Linked DNA regions of Homo sapiens: all the other regions are linked to region 6. Evidence: promoter capture Hi-C in 16 types of primary human blood cells and fetal thymus (Javierre and others, 2016). All regions are on one chromosome and are shown on one strand. The core of a region is centred on a gene start or on the middle of the fragment in contact, and the rest is flanking DNA. Distances in the headings are between cores, read along the strand shown.

Region 1 (2,700 bases), core at 40-2,539, 6.3 Mb before region 6:
AAGGACACTAATGATAAACACAGAAACATCTGAAAGTATAAAACTCCCTGGCAAAAATACGTACATAGCTAAATTTAATTTATAATACTCTGATACTGTAATGGTAGCATTTAAATACTGTAATGAGGGTGTGTAAATCACGTATCTTTAGTAGGGCTAAAAGATAAAAGTATTAAAATTAATAACTACAGCAACTTGTTGATGGATATGCAATATAAAAATACTTAAATTGTGAAATTGAAAGCACAAAATATTGAGGAAAGGAAGTGGAGTTAAAGTGTAGTTTGCATGTGTATGTGTAAATAATCAAAGTTAACTTGTTATCAGTCTAAAATAACCTGTAATATCTATGTTTTTTGAAGCAAAAACCGACAATAGATACACTAAAAATAAAAATCAGCCAGGCGAAGTGGCTCATGCCTGTAATCCCAGCACTTTGGGAGGCTGAGGCAGGCGGATCATGAGGCCAGGAGTTTAAGACCAGCCTGGCCAACATGGCAAAACCCCGTCTCTACTAAAAATACAAAAATTAGCCAGGCATGGTGGCGGGCACCTGTAATTCCAGCTACTTGGGAGGCTGAGGCAGGAGAATCGCTTGAACCCGGGAGGCGGAGGTTGCAGTGAGCCGAGATCATGCCATTGCACTCCAGCCTGGGCAACAAGAGCAAGACTCCATCTCAAAAAATAAAAATAAAAAAATAAAAATCAAGCAATCAAAAACACCACCACAGACACATTTATAATGTTTAAACAAGTATCTGGGTATCCCATGGCCCAGTCAAATTGACACATGAAATTACCCATCACACCACCTATATTCTGGGCTCTGGCTGTACAAAATGAACAGTTTCTGTCCTCGTGGGGCTTACATCCTATTGAGGGGATCACACTATTTTTTTATTTTTCCCACAGACAAGTGTACACCTGAGAGGTTTTTTTTTTCTTGAGGCGGCATCTCACTCTGTCACCCAGGCTGGAGTATAATAGGGTAATCTCGGCTCACTGCAACCTCCGCCTCTGGGGTTCAAGCGATTCTCCTGCCTCAGCCTCCTGAGTAGCTGGGATTACAGGCATGTGCCACCATGCCCGGCTAATTTTTGTATTTTTAGTAGAGACAGGGTTTCACCATGTTGGTCAGCCTGATCTTGAACTCCTGACCTCAGGTGATCCACCCGCTTCGGCCTCCCAAAGTGTTGGGATTACAGGCACAAGCCACTGCACCCGGCCCACATAGGTAATTTCTAATAGTGCTAGGTGCTAATATCGTAGACCAAAGAAAGAGAAGAGGTGTATGAAGGGAGGCATGGGTGGGCAGAAATGTTGAACTTTATAGTGAAAGTGAAGAGGATTTAAAAGTCTTTCAGCTCAAGAGTGAAATTACAGTTATGCTATAGGAAGAGTAAATTGATATCAAGGTGCAGGGTGACACATAGAAGAGAGGCACTAGAGGCAGAGAAATTATCTGGGAAGCAAGCAAATATAGGATTTAGGCAAGATGAAGGAAATGAATAAAAGAGAAAAAAGAGGGGAATGTAATAGTATTAGGAGTTGAGGCCTTTGGGAAGTGATTAGATCATGAGGATGGAGCCCTTAAAAATAGGATGAGTGCCCCTATAAAAATGAGACTCCAGAGAACTTTCTTGCCCCTTTCCACTATTTGAGGACACAAACCAAATTTGCAGTCCTCAACCCAGAATAGGGCTCTTACAGAATTTGACCATGCTGGCACACTGATCTCAAACCCCCATCCTCAGGAATTGTGAGAAATAAATTTCTATAGTTTATTAGCTAAGTAGTTTTATGATATTTTTGTTATAGCAGCCTGTACTAAGATGGGAAGAAACTATTTATTGAGTATCTGTTATGTGTTATACATACTCTTAGGAGTTTTCACTTATATGAACTAAGAAGTGTCAGAATGGGTGAAAAAACTATAAGAAAGATATTACAACAAAGTTGAATTTGTTGAAGACTTCACAGCTGATTTTGTGTTTATGTGTGTATATAAATACAACAGCATAATCATTTGTGCTTGGGTAGGTAAGGATGAAAAAGAGAGAGGTCTAAAAAGGTCTATGGTTTCAAATATGAGTAACTGCTAAGGTAATAGTGGTATTATTAGAAAAAATGGATAACACAGGCTGGGTACAGTAGCTCATGCCTGTAATCCCAGCACTTTGAGAGGCCGAGGCGGGCGGATCACGAGGTCAGAAGATCGAGACCATCCTGGCTAACACGGTGAAACCCCGTCTCTACTAAAAATACAAAAAATTATCCAGGTGTGGTGGCGGGCGCCAGTAGTCCCAGCTACTCGGGAGGCTGAGACAAGAGAATCGCTTGAACCCAGGAGGCAGAGGTTGCAGTAAGCCGAGATCACACCACTGCACTCCAGCCTGGGCAACAGAGCGAAATTCCATCTTGGAAAAAAAAAAAAAAAAAGGATAACACAAAGAGAAAGAATGAGTGGGGAAAATGATGAGTTATATTTTTGACAAAAGTCAGGAATCCAAGCAAAACTGCTCAGTAAGTAGTAAGAAATATAGGGCTAGAGGTAAAAAGGGAAGCTATGCCAAAAGATATATAGACAGTGATTATCTGCACAGAAATGGTACCTGAAGCAATGAGATTTACTTTGGTTACTAATGGAGAGATTGAAGATAAAGAAGAAGACATATTCTAATAAATTCCTCACTTGAGGAA
Region 2 (2,805 bases), core at 246-2,745, 7.6 Mb before region 6:
CGCTGCAGATTCGTCCCAGGAAAGGGTGACCGGGGTCGCTGCTCCGGGATTACCAGCTAAATACCTGTATTAGCATCCTCAGCACGCACTGGGAGACGCAGCTCAAGTCCGCTCCCCTTCTTGCACCCTCATATATATTTGGTGCAAAATGGAGAACCTTTTCCCCTACGTTTGTGTAAAAATATATGTAAATAAAGCCTTAAAATAGTGTTACCGACCCCCTTTTCCACTCGCAATAACATTGACTATAAATGCTGATAATTCCAAAAGAATCTCGACTCTTCCTTGAGTAGTCTGGAGCTAGCAGGTGCAAGTTTAGAAACAATAACTCATCACTGAGGGAGGCACTGAAAATTTTATAACTGTTAACTGGAATCTAAATTTCCATGTAAATGGGCTGTCTCTGGTCCCGTGTCAAGAGACTAATATTTTTCCAGAAGCCTGAAAATATGCTTTTATGATGTTGGGAGTCTCAAACGTAAAAACGGACTCCTAACCCTCTGGATGTTTCGGCTGAACTCTCAACTGTCCACCAGCTCCCCCTACACGTGGCTCCTTAGAAAGCGTGGAAAAGGGAAAAATGAAAAGAGAAACTGCCAGGACTTAAGATGTCTGCTTAAAGACTCCCTCGAACTGCAGTGAAGGGTCCTACCCGCTTCCAAAATGTCCACCCGCATTCCTGACGTCACTGGATCGGCTCCATCAAGCCAGAAAACGAGAGTGCGCTCCAATCAGGGCTCAGTCCCCGCCCTTGCCTTGCGTCACTTCCGGTGGTGCAGCAGCCATTTTGTCAGTCGCCAGCGGATCCCGCGCGCTGGAGAAGTGCAGTTCCCCCTGGTTACCAACTCGCCCGCTTTTCCTTCGGACTAAGGGAGCCGTCGAAGAGCGCTCGCCAAAGGCGCAGCCGTTTCTCCCTACGGTGCCGCCGCTCCTCCTGCAGCCGCCCGTAGGTAGCGGGCCGTTTTCCTCACCTGTCCCTGACAGGCGCCCTCAGGGAGCCGCGGTCCGCGATGTCAAGCGAGGAAAGCTACCGGGCCATCCTGCGTTACCTGACGAACGAGCGCGAGCCGTATGCGCCGGGCACCGAGGGCAATGTCAAGCGTAAAATCCGAAAAGCTGCCGCCTGCTACGTGGTGCGCGGCGGGACTCTGTATTACCAGCGGCGGCAGCGGCACCGCAAGACCTTCGCGGAGCTGGAGGTGGTGCTGCAGCCGGAGCGACGCCGGGACCTCATCGAGGCGGCGCACCTGGGTCCCGGCGGCACTCACCACACCCGGCATCAGACCTGGCACTACTTGTCCAAGACGTACTGGTGGCGAGGTGAGACCTAGCCCGCGGCGAGGGGGCGGGCTGGCGACTCGTTGCCTGGGCAAGGCTCGCTGGCGAGGCCTATGCGTACCCACGAGTCGGAGGGTCTCGGACGCCTCTGGGCGGCGGAGCTGCTGCCAGGCGGAGCCGAGAGGGTGGGGGACGCGAAAGGAGCCGCACTTCCCACAGGAAGGAGGCCGGCGAAGCTGGGGGCGGGCCCTGGCCCTGGGTGGGACCAAGGGGGCTTCCCCGGAGGCCGGGCCAGCCGCGGGGAGGGGCCGGACGCCTGGGCTGCGCCAGGTCCGCCTCCTTGGGCGGCCCCTTGAGGCTGTAGGCCCCGGCCCTCTGGAGGTGGCGTGTGGCTCGCGGCAGTGGAGGCTGCGGGGTGCACGTTTTCGACTGTGCTGACGTTTGGAAGGGGGGACGAGTCACCCGAAGCCGGGTCTCCCGTTTCTTTAGTGCTGCGCTTGGGTTTTGGCGAGCGAGTATGAGCTGCTCTGGACACATTCGCTAGTGTTCCTCAAATTTTGCCGCTGCTGCGTAAATAAGGAATAATACAATTATTTGCAGAAGTGATAAGGAGTGATTGAGAAATCGCCTTGAGCGTTTTTTTTTAAGAACAAGAAGTAAATGTAAAAGATATCAGTTACTGTTTTTGTTGTTTGGTTTTGCGGGGGCGGGGTGTTTGAGTAGACACGGGTCTCGCCTCGTTCCCCAAGCTGGTCTCCATCTGGCCTCAAGCCATCCTCCCGCCTCGGCCTCCCAAAGTGTTGGGATTTCAGGCATGAGCCACGGCGCCCAGCTTGATATTCGTAACTCTGAATGTTTTAATAATCTTTCCCCTAATGATGTGAAAAACGCGTTTGGGAACTGTGTAGCATTGTATATACGCAGAAAAGGTACGATTACTGTGACTTTTTGATTGTCAAAAAATACAGCTCTGAAGTTACTTGACTCCTTGGGAACCAGTTGTAAGGGAGGATAGCAAGTGTCCTTGGCTTCTTAACCATCTTCACTCTCCACAGTTAATGAATATTCAAACTGTCAGAATTAGTTAATAGTTTATAGTCCCATTTAAGAAATTTTGTTAGGAACAGTGCTGTCACTCTCCAATATGGCTACAGAAAAGTTATTTCATTCAAATCTTGGTTACTTCGTCTGTGAATAACGAAATTACTGAATAGTTTCTAAAGTTCTTTTCGGTTTATAAACATCATCAAGTTTATTCGTTTACGAACTATTGGATAATCAAATTCTTCCATTTATTTTCCACTTTAAACCAATATCTGAATTAAATTCCTGTAAGGACAGACAAATGCGAAGATTAAATTATGAGGTAATGAAGTAATCAGTGCATTTTGTTTGGATGGGTTTGGGTAGACATTAGTTTGTTGAACAAATGTCTCAGATTTAATACTTCAGGATTTGTTAAAGATGATAATTGTAACTATAGGTAACATTGATCAAGCTTGTATATGCAGGATGTAGTCGTTAGCC
Region 3 (2,700 bases), core at 185-2,684, 5.9 Mb after region 6:
AATAAATTAAAGATGGCTTTTCCCCTTATCGTTGGTATTTTTGGTAAGAAGACACATGAAGTACGTTATTTCACATTCTAGATTCTAACAAAGTATCCTAACATAACTATTACAATTTTTAAAAAATTTTAACAAAAAAGGATATTTACTATGTATGCCCTGTTATTAGGCTATGGCAAATTAGCCTACAGAAAGTAAAGGTCCAGATGGTCTCCCCAGTTTGACCACCCAATTATGATGAATTATCTGTAATGTATTCTTCTTTACAACTGACTCCAGACTTTCCAAATACCGGTTGGGTATATCAAAACAGAGAACTACAGCTGGTTTCTTTCTCCACCATTCCCTGGCATAAAAAGACTAATGGGGTTCAATCCTGCACAAGTAGAGTTCAATCCTGGCACTGTGCTTTTTGGCTGTTCTCACAAAAGGCTGATCAAGCTTCAAGCTTCACTAACAGACTTCAGTTCCTCTAGGTCTTTCTCCTCCAAATACTGTTTCTTCATACACTTCCCCTGTAATGTTTTCCAGGTAGCCTCAGGAATCTCAGGGTCTCTTACTGATCCTGGGCTTTTAAAGTCAGTATCTTTCTCCTCACAAATCTGAGTTATTTTGGGGGCCTAAAAGTTTCTGCGTATTCAAGTATGAAATTCAAAGAAACTATGTGACTGAAAAAGTAACACTGATGAGAAGAACCAAAGATAAACTCTAGAAGCGGAAAAGCCTTTTGTACACAGTATATAAGTTGTTTTTGCTCATTCGTTAATGCATTCACTCCAATATTAGGCTGTAGTGTGCCCATATCTAGGGATTCATGAAATAAACATGAAATAAAATAGCATTAATCCTCAAGAATCTCAAGACTATCAAAAAGATTTTACATTTTTAAGGTTGATTCAAAACTATGTGCAGAAATTGCAGCCTTATTTGTGCTTTACACGAACTCAAAAGTTTAATACTAAAGGTACCTAGAGGAAATCCCTGCCCTTTTTGAGTATCTCTAGTAACAAGAATGGTTTTTAATTTTATCCTTTACTTAGGATGTTTACCTATTACACTTTATAATGATATTTCAAACTTCAAACTAAGAAATAAAAGGTAACCCAGTTTTCAAAACTCAAGCAGAGGTATAGGATGGATAAAGATGGACTTGTGACCTGATTGTGTACCTTTATAAAAATATGAGAGGAAATTATTTTGCACACTATTTTCTTTATACTTAATTATATTACAATAACAGTGTAACTAGCAGTTATAAAATTTTCTTTGTTCTCGTTAAATGCCTAAAACTCTAAGAGCAACACAACTATAAATTAAATCTGAACGATACACTATTCTTATAGCAGACAAAAGGGATTTCCCTCCTTTATTAAGTTCTTATTTTAGGACATACCAATTCGTATTCCTCGTAAGAGGCATAGCATTAAAAAAACAAAGATGAGTTTCCAGGCTCCCATTTCCAAAATTCTTATCAGTCTCCCTAGATGATTATAGCAAAGGAAAAAGTAACATGTACAATACGTCATCACATTTCCCAATTGAGTTCTTTTCCAAATGGTAATTTTATAAATTAAAGTAACTAAGTAAATCCATGATCAGCAAACAGTTGCTAGGTGATGAAGAATTTAAACAAAGCATGTAAATAATTTGGCAACTCAACCATGTAACTCAAACCTAGTAACAGGTAAAAAACTAAATATTCTAAGTTATAATGTGGGAGTATATGTATACTTATGTATATGTGTATACACACATTATACATGCATGGGTTGTTTTGGGGTTTTTTTTGTCATCTCTGCCAAGATCAGCCAAGAGGAAGAACGGTAATTCGTTTAAAAGTTAGGAACTGGGCATACCTTTAAAATTTCAACAGCATATTTCCTTTATATTGTATTACAGTAACTGCTCTATAAAACTGTTGTCTGAAGCCTAGGTAAGAATAAAGTCTATTTCGAGAACAGCATTTATCACTGCCCAAAAACAGTAAGGAAAATGTTGCAGATTACAAAAGATATTTAGCTTGGACTACAGCTGATAACTTTGAAAAATGTTTCTCAAATCTTTAAAGAGGTAGTAAGTTTTTCTTCAACTGTTAAATTATTGGACTTTTTTGCAAAAAGAATGTTATTTAAATTTTCTAAAATGAGAACTTTGAGTTTACGTTAAACATCTCTAAAATATTTAATAGTTTTAAAAATATACTACAGTGAGATGCATTTGTAAAATACAATTATCCAGAGTTAGACAAAAGTAAACATGAAACTTAAAGAGGGGAAGCCTGGACCATTATTAATCCTTTCCCACATGAAAAGTGCAGATATTAGCAGAATATTCACTAAGTAAAAGGAAAATATTACCTGGTTTCTAAGGCACACAGTTAGCTGTAAGATCTAAAGTGGGATTTATTTGCATTAAGCTTTCAGAATACTTGCTGCAACTCGGGTAGAAATAGGTAAGTATTCACATGATATGTAAGTCTGTAGTCCAGAAAGGTATTTCAACTAAAATATGTCAATTTTCACATCTGAAATCATTCAGACATTACTGATATAGTATTTGGAAGAGTTTCTGTATAGAAGATTTTTTTCAGGCTGACAGTACTTAGCGCTTTAGAGGGTCAGGTAAACCCAGTTCTCTTTTGTTCAGCAATGTCTCATTTCCACTACCTCAAACTTGGTCCCCAGTTCCACTATCCGAAGC
Region 4 (2,700 bases), core at 53-2,552, 6.2 Mb before region 6:
TTCAGCCTATTTGGTATGTACATGGTATGGTGGTACATGGTATGTATGTATATGAAAGCAAATGGACAAGGCCCTCCTGGACATTCCAGTCCCTTTCCACACCATGTTCTTCTTTCCCTTATACTGGTCTCCTCTGTGTTCTTTGAATAAGCCATACTCTTTCCCAACATGTGGCCTTTGCTGTCTCTTCTGTCTTGAAAGATCACCCAGCCCTGCACACCTTTGGGCCCCAACATATGTACACATAGCATCTAGTTACCTCCTACTCTTACTTCAGTGCTCAGCTCAGTTGTCTCTTCCTCAGAGAATGACAGCAAAGCCTTTTGGAATATAGCCGGTCCCTTTATCATATGTGTCTGTAGATACATAATATGTGAGTTGAATGGAGGAATCAAGAAGTTAAAAATGGGAAAGGAGAAGGAAAGCAGAGAGTAATGTAGACTTGAATAGTGTTCAGGTTTTAAAACATTTCTTCTTGATCTACATGGACATGTCTACCGGCTTCTCCTACTTTTAAGTTTACTTGTGGTTCTTTGTAAATGTTTCTTATGTGAGGCTATAAAGAATCCTAAAATCATGAATAGATTGTGAACTCCTTCATTCTCATCATACCACCTCACATTGGACAAGTTTCAGCAATCATTTATTGAGCACTTGAGTACAGACCAAGTTCTGTTCCAGGATTTAGAGGGAATGGTCTTATCTACCTCCCACCTTTCCTACATTTATCTCTTCTTTCTCTTTCTTAGCACAAGCTCAGCCCAGCACTATGTTTTTCAATCCTCTTAGCATTGGAATAATCCAAGGAACTTAAAAACATACACACATAAAACGATGTGGGAACGTCACCCCCGGGAATTCTGATTCTGCTGGTCTAGGGTCAGACACAAGCACAGGTGAGTTTTAAAAGTTTCTTAGGCAGTGCTAATGTGCAGGCAGCATTGAGGACCACTGGCCTAGACTAATCTTGAAATAGAAACTCGAACTGGAGAACTGCAGAACATCTGACTTCTGGAAATCAAAACTTGAGTGGTTCCAATGATACTTTTATTACAACTGATCTCTAAGATGGTGTCAGACCTGCAGAAGGTGCTAAAAAGGCTATAACTGATGCATTGCCCCTGAATTAAGGTTGATGACTTTGGACCTTGGTTGTAGGAAATAATGTGATTACTTGTACACCTGTTTCAGGGGCAGTCACTCACGGTGGAGGAAAGCAGACTAAATGCCTATGGGCACTTTTACCAACTTTTAGGTTCTGTTCTCTGACACTCATGTGTCTCAAAGACTTGAAACAAATACTATTTTATGAGTTTAATGCCTGGGTAACCTGAGGCCCTGAAAGGTTTAGGCTTTATTTTCTGGCACAGTGCAGTAGGCAGGACTCCCGACTCCCAAACTCCAGAGATTATCTCCAGTTGAGGGAACCATGAAGCAAGACGCCTGATTCCTAGCCTTAGCTCAGCCACTAGCCAGGTAGATGTGTGGCCCTGTTTAAGTTATCTCTGATATCGGGGCCTCAGTTTCCTCAGATGAGGTAAATTGAGCTAGATGGTCTATCCGGGCCCCCTTCAGCTTTAACAAGTGTCACTAGGTGGCACTCATGTAACTCCAGTGGGGAGCCATTGGAGCAAGTTGGCTGCCAAGCTCCTTATGTCCCTTAAACGACCCTGGGATCTGTCAGGGGCAGCTTAGAAAATAATGCAATTTTAGGAAGACTGTTTAGGAGTCTTTTTACCAAGAATAGCTTTTGAATCTGCGGACACCTGTTGTATTTTACCAGCTGCTTTCAAGTATTATGTACTTCTGGTTTTATATTCCTATCCTTTTACCATCTCAAATTTTAAAATATTGTATAGAAAACTATTTCTGTGGCTTAGCTACATTTGTAACATTGTCCAGACATACTGGTTTGTGTGACATAAACACATGAGGTATTCTTTTAGCAAGTACTGAAGTCTGCCAGCCATATGCCACTGCATCAGTAACTTTTAAGAGGAGAAAGATTCACTATCCCAATACTGGACTTCAAGCAAATGGGATTCTGCCCTGGGATGTGTCCCCACTGGATAGAGTCAGTCAGATATGGTTCTTGTTTAAAGACTTGCTCCCCAAACCTGGTTTGTCCTGGTGTCTGACATTGCTAGGGAGGTTTATTCTCACTCAGATTCATTTCAGAAATTCAGTTCTGCTCAATGTGGCTTCCGAATTCAACTCACAGGTAGGGGAATTGGGAGCCTCCATGATCCAATACTCAAGGATGGCCCTGTCTTCCGTTGTCAAAAGTCATCCAATTCACATGTCAGGTGCTTTTCCTTCAAGCAAGGGCCACAGGAGTTGCTCCTAAGGATTTATTAACAAAAATAAACATGGAAGAACTAAATTTGGGGCCTAATCCTGTAAGATCCAAGAAGAGATTTAAGAAGTTTCATATTGCCAATTCATTTTGGGAGTAAGAGGTGGACTTTTAATAAAGACTGCCTTCATTACCTGTCAATATAGGAGCCTTCGAGTTGCATACATTTCCTGGGTTGAATTATAATTACGACTTTCAGACCTAGGGGCATGGTGTGGTGTTAAGGTTAGGATAAGGGAATGAATATACATACATATATGTATACACAGGTAAAAGAATAGAAAGATCCAAAGCCAAAATACAGCAGGGACATTTTAAGTGATGTTCATTGTCTTCTTTATTCT
Region 5 (2,910 bases), core at 1-2,500, 7.5 Mb before region 6:
CCAACTGACGTATGTTTGCTTACTGTCTACTTCTCTCCATTAGAATGTAAGTTCTATGACAGCAGGAACAGGGACTTTGTTTTGTTCACTACTGTATCTCTAGTTCTTGGAATAGCGTCTGGTGCACAGTAGGCACTTAAATATTGTTAGAATTTTACAATTTTTTGCCAAGCACATAAAGAAGTAAAGCACACTTTAAAAGTCCTCTAGCAATATATTAATACATAAGAGAAAGATGCAAAGCTTTTGAAAAATTATAGAGACTTCTTTTATAATTCTAAACTTAATAAATGTCAAAGGTTTATTAATTATTCTTAAAGAATATTCCATCCATCAATTTATATATGCTTTGTCTTTTGCAAATAAAGATAAACCATCTCTCAAGCAAATTCAACATGGTTCATCAAAATAAAAAGGGAGAGAATCAAACAATTTTTATGCTTAATTTTCCAAAGACTGGATTAGAATAAGATAGTGTAGGGGAGGAAAAATAATTATTTCCTTAACCCTCATGAGTTCTTAGTTGGAATGAACCCTTGTAACAACAGAAAAACAAAGAAGTTTATTAATGCATGCAGCGCATATCACCTTAGAGAAACGTAAATGCGGAGTAACTCAAAACAGTGGCTTACAACTCTGGCTTATGTAAGTATCTTCAACGAAGAACAATAAATTTCTGGAGAGAAGAAAGAACAAAGGAAAGAGTTTTAGGCTTCCAAGGGTGAGAAACTGTGGGAATGTAAATCTACAGAAGGAAACTAATACAGTAAGGTTTGTTTGCAGATTCGTCTGGGGCTTTCTGGGCTGGTAAGAGCCTAGACAGAATTTATGTCCTGCCTTTTAGGCAGAAAAAGGAGAGAGCGAGCTTTCCCTCCTTAATTGCCTTCAGCTCAAAAATAATTTTTATATAAAAGAGGTATATTTTGGCCTGGCACAGTGGCTCACGCCTGTAATCCCAGCACTTTGGGAGTCTGAGGCAGGTGGATCACGAGGTCAGGGGTTCGAGACCAGCCTGGCCAACATGCTGAACCCTTGTCTCTACTAAAAATACAAAAATTAGCCAGGCATGGTGGCAGGTGCCTGTAATCTCAGCTACTCGGGAGGCTGAGGCAGGAGAATCACCTGAATCTGGGAGGCGGAGGTTGCAGTGAGCTGAGATCGTGCTATTGCACTCCAGCCTGGGCAATAAGAGCAAAACTCAGTCTCCGGGAAAAAAAAAAAAAGGCATATTTTGAGGTGACATTCTGGTTTCCTTCAATAGTTTACCTTCAAGAATAAGATTGTTAGAGCTAGAAGGGACCTTATTGATATTCTTAGCTAACATGTTTATTTTATAAATGGAGAAGTTGAGGCTTTCAAAGGTAAAGTGGCATGCCCAAAGTAACTGAGGCAGCCCAGGAGCCTGAGAGAAGATTTTTTTTCCCCTTTTTTGACTTTTATTTTAGGGTCGGGGGAATGTGCAAATGTGTTACAAGGGTAAATTTTGTGTCACTGGGGTTTGGTATACAAATGATTTCATTACCCAGGTAGCGAGCATAGTATCTGATAGGTAGTTTTACAACGCTCACCCTCCTCCCACTCCAAGATTAGTTTTTACCAAAGATTTAAAAATGCATAGTATTTGACTTTTTATTTCATTCATTTACCAAAAATTTAGTGAGGCCATTTGGTAGGCACTTTGTTTCCTATGTCAAGTACTCCAGTCGTTTTACGCAGAATAAAATTTTAAAAAAGGAGAACAGCATATACGCATTAAAGAAAATTTGAAATTAGGCTTTTCCAGTATCCTGGATTAGGTGGTGACACAGCTGTAATGACTTGTTCTAGGTGTGGTTATTTCTTAAAAAACAATTGTGAAAATATACATAACAAAATTTACCATTCTAACCATTTTTAAGTGTGCAGTTCAGAGGCATTACGTACATTCATATTGTTGTGTAACCATTACTGACATCCATCCACAGAATGCTTTTCATCTTACAAAACTGTAACTCTATACCCATTAAACAATAACTCCCCATTCTCCTCATCCTAGGCACTAGCAACCACCATTCTACTTTCGATCTCTCTGAATTTGACTTCTCTAGGTTAGGTGTGATTATCTTTAAAGAAGAGGGTGGGTGGGACACCAGAATCATAGATGCAAATAACTTTAATTAGCGTATTTGGATTTTTAAGGAACCCCTTTCCTTTCTAGGATCAAAAGTGGTTACATTTAACAATATTTACATTTTTCACAGGTGATTAGTAAGCTTTTATAAGAAGTAATTTTATAATCTGAGAAGTTAGGAAATCCCCTGGTTACAGAGTAATAATCTAATACAGTAATTATAATCCTTTTTTATATTTAGGAACAAGGTCCTTTTGTATATACCATGCCATTAAGAAGCACAGAATGGAGAATACTTTTACTCAGAATATTTAAAAATATCTAATGATACTTTTTTTTTTTTACAACGAGTAAGTTTTCATTTATTTTCATATTTAGGAAAGCAAAACAAAACAAAAAACCTCTAGAAAATATGTTTGAAAGAAAGAATACTGTTTTGGTACAAAAGCAGCACTATTTTTCTTTTCCCAACACAGAAAGCAATTATGCAGTTTTTTAGAAAAATAATAATGCCTGTATTACAATTCCATTTAGTAAATTGTAGAAAATAATAGTGGTTGTGAAATTATATCTGTAGAAATTTCAAAATAAGATGAAAGTACATAATGTCCCTCCTCACTGTTCACCTCTCCCTAGGGAACAAAAAAGTTGTATTTAATCCACCAGAGGCAAGGACACATAGAAAAAAGAATATTAGAGATAGGAAAAAGAAAAAAGCAGATGTCACTAAGTGTTGGTTTTACCAAATTGGAGTATGCAACAGAATCGTCTGGGAAGTTTATTTTTTATGTTTTTTGGAG
Region 6 (2,879 bases), core at 22-2,521:
ATTACTAGTTCTTGAAATGGAAGCAATACCTTACATGTACCAAAACTGTACATTATCTAATTATGAAAAAGCAAGGTTTTTCCAAATAATTATTTTCCAAATGTGAAGCAAAGGTTAAAACAGAATCTACTGGGGCTGAAGAAACTGTCAAAAGGAACAAAATTAATTTTAAAAAGTCACTGTAGGGGCTAGGCAGGTGGCTCACACCTGTAATCCCAGCACTGTGGGAGGCAGAGGCGGGAGGATCACATGAGGTCTGGAGTTCAAGACCAGGTTGGCCAACACGGGAAACCCGTCTCTACTAAAAATACAAAAATTAGCCGAGAGTAGTGGTGGGCGCCTGTAACCCCACCTACTCAGGGGGCTGAGGTGGGAGAATCGCTTGAACTCAGGAGGTGGAGGTTGCAGTGAGCCGAGATCGCGCCACTGTACTCCAGCTGGCTCATGCTTTGCAGGGACGAGGCGAGAGGATCATTTCCCAGTTCAAGACCAGACTGGAAAACATATCAAGGACGTGTCTCTACAAAAAGTAAAAAAAAAAAAAAAATTAGCCAGGCGTAGTGGCCTGCTCCTGTAGTCCTAGCTACTAGGGAGGCTGAGGCTGGAGGATCGCTTGAACCCAGGAGTTCAAGGTTACAGTGAGCTATGATGGAGCAGCTGCATTCCAGATTGGGTGACAGAGCAAGAACTTGTATCTAAACAAAACTAAAAAGTCACCGGGGATGCTGACATCAAGAAAAATTGGTGAAAGGTATTTGAGAACTCTGTACTATCTTTGCAACGTTATTTTAAAGTGAAAAGTTAATTTAGGGAGAAAAGTCACTCCAATTTCATCGTGAACTTCCTTGCAATTGTTTCATTTATTCATCCAAGAAACGTGTATTCAATGCCTACTATGTAACAGACACTGTTCTAAGCTCCCGGGATACCGCTGTGACACAGAAAACAAATCTCAGCCCTCCAAGAGCTGGAGGGAGTGGGTACTAGAAGTCTGCGAGCTGGACGGAAGGGACTCAGCATTACAGCACTCAGCATTATTTCAGGGCTTGACAGTAAAGCCAAAGAAACGCTGATCTCGCGAGGGGACGAACAAAGGTGATGTTCCCCCATCCCAGCACCCTCCCTCGCCACCTCGGCCGCGTCCAGAAGCGTCTCATTCAGATAGAGGTACCCAGCCGGGCCCCAGGTCTCACCTGGGTCAGCATTGTCCCGCTGAGAGCTTTCAAACAACAGGTGTACGCGAATCAGTATCAAAAAGCCTCCAGGGAACTGAAAAAAACAGTCTGACTTCCGGGATTCGCGGGCATCCACTTTCATTCTCACGTTTCCTCTTCAATTTCTCGCGAGATACTGATTTGCTCGCGCTATAGAATTCTTGTCGAAGAGGCTTAGCTCCCGCGGGAGATTTCGTGCGCAGTTACTTCCGGTAGCTGGTAAAGGCTGATACTTCCCAGGACGCGGAGGTAACGGGCCAGGGCCAAAGCGACTTTCGCTACTTGGATTGGTCGGCGTAGCTTTGGGCGGCCGGACCTTAGAAAGTCACACATCTGCGCGCCTGTGCGGCCCCTGCTTCTGCGGATGCTGAGGTGGGAGGATCGCTTGGGCAGAAGTTTGAGGTTGCAGTGACCCGTGATCGCGCCACTGCACTGCAGCGTGGGCGACAGAGCGAGGCTTTGTCTCAAAAATAAATAAAAAGTCGCATATTGTGCTGAACAGTGTGTATATGCATGGGGCTCAATAAAGGAATGAGTTTTGGGGTTATGTTGTATGATGACTGATTTAAAATATTCTCAAAGCGAAGCTAGTTACTGACTTAATCTACCAAATCTAGTGACCCCTGTTAACCTAGACATTCAGTACCCAAGGATAAAAGGGTGGAATATAATGAAAAAGAAATTAAGTCATGCTTTTCCCCAGACCTGGCCCATGGGGATAATCTCTCCTTTTAATGGAGAGTGTTAAACTGAAGTAGGCATGTAAAGCGGTTACAACAGTGATTAGGAAACAGTAAATGCCCAAATGTTAGCTGCTATTATTTTCACTATTGTGATCATTGTGATTTTTGTCGCGTTGATACCAAATGCGTGAAGACCAAAAGGACCCTCCACTCTAGCCTCCCCAATTCACCTTTACAAGGGAGCAATGTTTAATGGTTCTCCAAGGAAGATGTTTATTACACCTATTTTGACACGAATAGAAGTTTATTTGCTCTTTTGGTGTCATGCTTCAGTAACTATCATTTGTAGCAGCAATCAGCAATTAGAAAAAACCGGTTTGATATGGTCCCTGATAGTTAATAATCATCATTTTGAGTTGTTCCTTGATGCTCATATCAATATACGTACATGCTATAGGTACAAGTCTTATATTCATGTAAAAACATGTCTTTCCTTCTAATCTGATTTGAAGCTTAATATATTTATTTATTTAAACAAGTTTCCAAGTCACCTAAAAAATGCATCTTATTAGAATTTAGATTTGGTACAAAAGACTATGATAATCAGGAATGAAATGATGCCATCTCTTGGATGCCGTCTGTTTAATGTTTGTGGAAAAGTCGGTCTAACCTTTCAGCCTCTGTATTTTTTATAATTTTATAAATTTATATTTTATAAATATTTTATAAATTTATACTTTATAAATATATTTTATATAATTTATTTTTCTATGTTCATTCCAGAATGTTGCAATTAATTAATACAGTGGTATTGTATTTGCAATGTAGGCACGTAAAAAAATTTGAAGAAGGGAATTTCGCGGCATTCTTGGCCTGGCTTCCTGGCGTAGCCAGCAAGTTCGGAGGTGTTAACCGCTGCTGTCATGTTTCTTTTGCTAAACTGCATCGTCGCTGTGTCCCAAAACATGGGCATCGGCAAGAA

Evidence for each region. Contacts are between HindIII fragments. The CHiCAGO score rates a contact against its expected background, and 5 or more counts as called.
Region 1: a fragment that was not itself captured here is called in contact with the fragment with the promoter of NSUN3 in region 6 in 1 of 17 cell types (naive CD8 T cells); the score reaches 6.2 in naive CD8 T cells.
Region 2: the fragment with the promoter of ZBTB11-AS1 here is called in contact with the fragment with the promoter of NSUN3 in region 6 in 2 of 17 cell types (non-activated CD4 T cells and naive CD8 T cells); the score reaches 5.4 in non-activated CD4 T cells.
Region 3: a fragment that was not itself captured here is called in contact with the fragment with the promoter of NSUN3 in region 6 in 1 of 17 cell types (total CD8 T cells); the score reaches 5.8 in total CD8 T cells.
Region 4: a fragment that was not itself captured here is called in contact with the fragment with the promoter of NSUN3 in region 6 in 2 of 17 cell types (naive CD8 T cells and non-activated CD4 T cells); the score reaches 9.1 in naive CD8 T cells.
Region 5: a fragment that was not itself captured here is called in contact with the fragment with the promoter of NSUN3 in region 6 in 1 of 17 cell types (fetal thymus); the score reaches 5.8 in fetal thymus.

Annotation. Positions count from the first base shown.
Region 1 is chr3:100,404,531-100,407,230 of GRCh38, reverse strand. All of the region lies in intron 1 of LNP1 (leukemia NUP98 fusion partner 1), which reads right to left. Among named protein-coding and RNA genes, the nearest start is that of LNP1, 4.3 kb to the right of the region's middle. The HindIII fragment of the contact is 5,109 bases long and covers 1-2,700 here.
Region 2 is chr3:101,675,120-101,677,924 of GRCh38, reverse strand. It overlaps ZBTB11-AS1 (ZBTB11 antisense RNA 1), which reads right to left and starts at 1,495. Exons shown (of 1, transcript NR_024407.1): 1 at 1-1,495. ZBTB11 (zinc finger and BTB domain containing 11) reads left to right here and starts at 793. Exons shown (of 11, transcript NM_014415.4): 1 at 793-1,320. The coding sequence starts at 1,011. It overlaps LOC124906262 (endogenous retrovirus group K member 5 Gag polyprotein), which reads right to left and starts at 1,480. Exons shown (of 3, transcript XM_047449415.1): 1 at 1-1,480. RefSeq lists an enhancer at 1,101-1,655 and a silencer at 1,372-1,741. The HindIII fragment of the contact is 10,842 bases long and covers 1-2,778 here.
Region 3 is chr3:88,156,603-88,159,302 of GRCh38, reverse strand. It overlaps C3orf38 (chromosome 3 open reading frame 38), which reads right to left. Exons shown (of 3, transcript NM_173824.4): 3 at 1,338-2,700. The coding sequence ends at 2,668. Among named protein-coding and RNA genes, the nearest start is that of C3orf38, 8.0 kb to the right of the region's middle. The HindIII fragment of the contact is 1,968 bases long and covers 451-2,418 here.
Region 4 is chr3:100,253,264-100,255,963 of GRCh38, reverse strand. No RefSeq gene overlaps it. Among named protein-coding and RNA genes, the nearest start is that of TBC1D23, 6.4 kb to the left of the region's middle. The HindIII fragment of the contact is 4,896 bases long and covers 1-2,700 here.
Region 5 is chr3:101,515,330-101,518,239 of GRCh38, reverse strand. No RefSeq gene overlaps it. Among named protein-coding and RNA genes, the nearest start is that of SENP7, 3.6 kb to the right of the region's middle. RefSeq lists an enhancer at 1-63. The HindIII fragment of the contact is 2,009 bases long and covers 246-2,254 here.
Region 6 is chr3:94,061,453-94,064,331 of GRCh38, reverse strand. NSUN3 (NOP2/Sun RNA methyltransferase 3) reads right to left here and starts at 1,271. Exons shown (of 6, transcript NM_022072.5): 1 at 1,194-1,271. The coding sequence starts at 1,205. DHFR2 (dihydrofolate reductase 2) reads left to right here and starts at 1,416. Exons shown (of 2, transcript NM_176815.5): 1 at 1,416-1,586; 2 at 2,726-2,879. The coding sequence starts at 2,821. RefSeq lists an enhancer at 1,138-1,377. The HindIII fragment of the contact is 2,538 bases long and covers 1-2,411 here.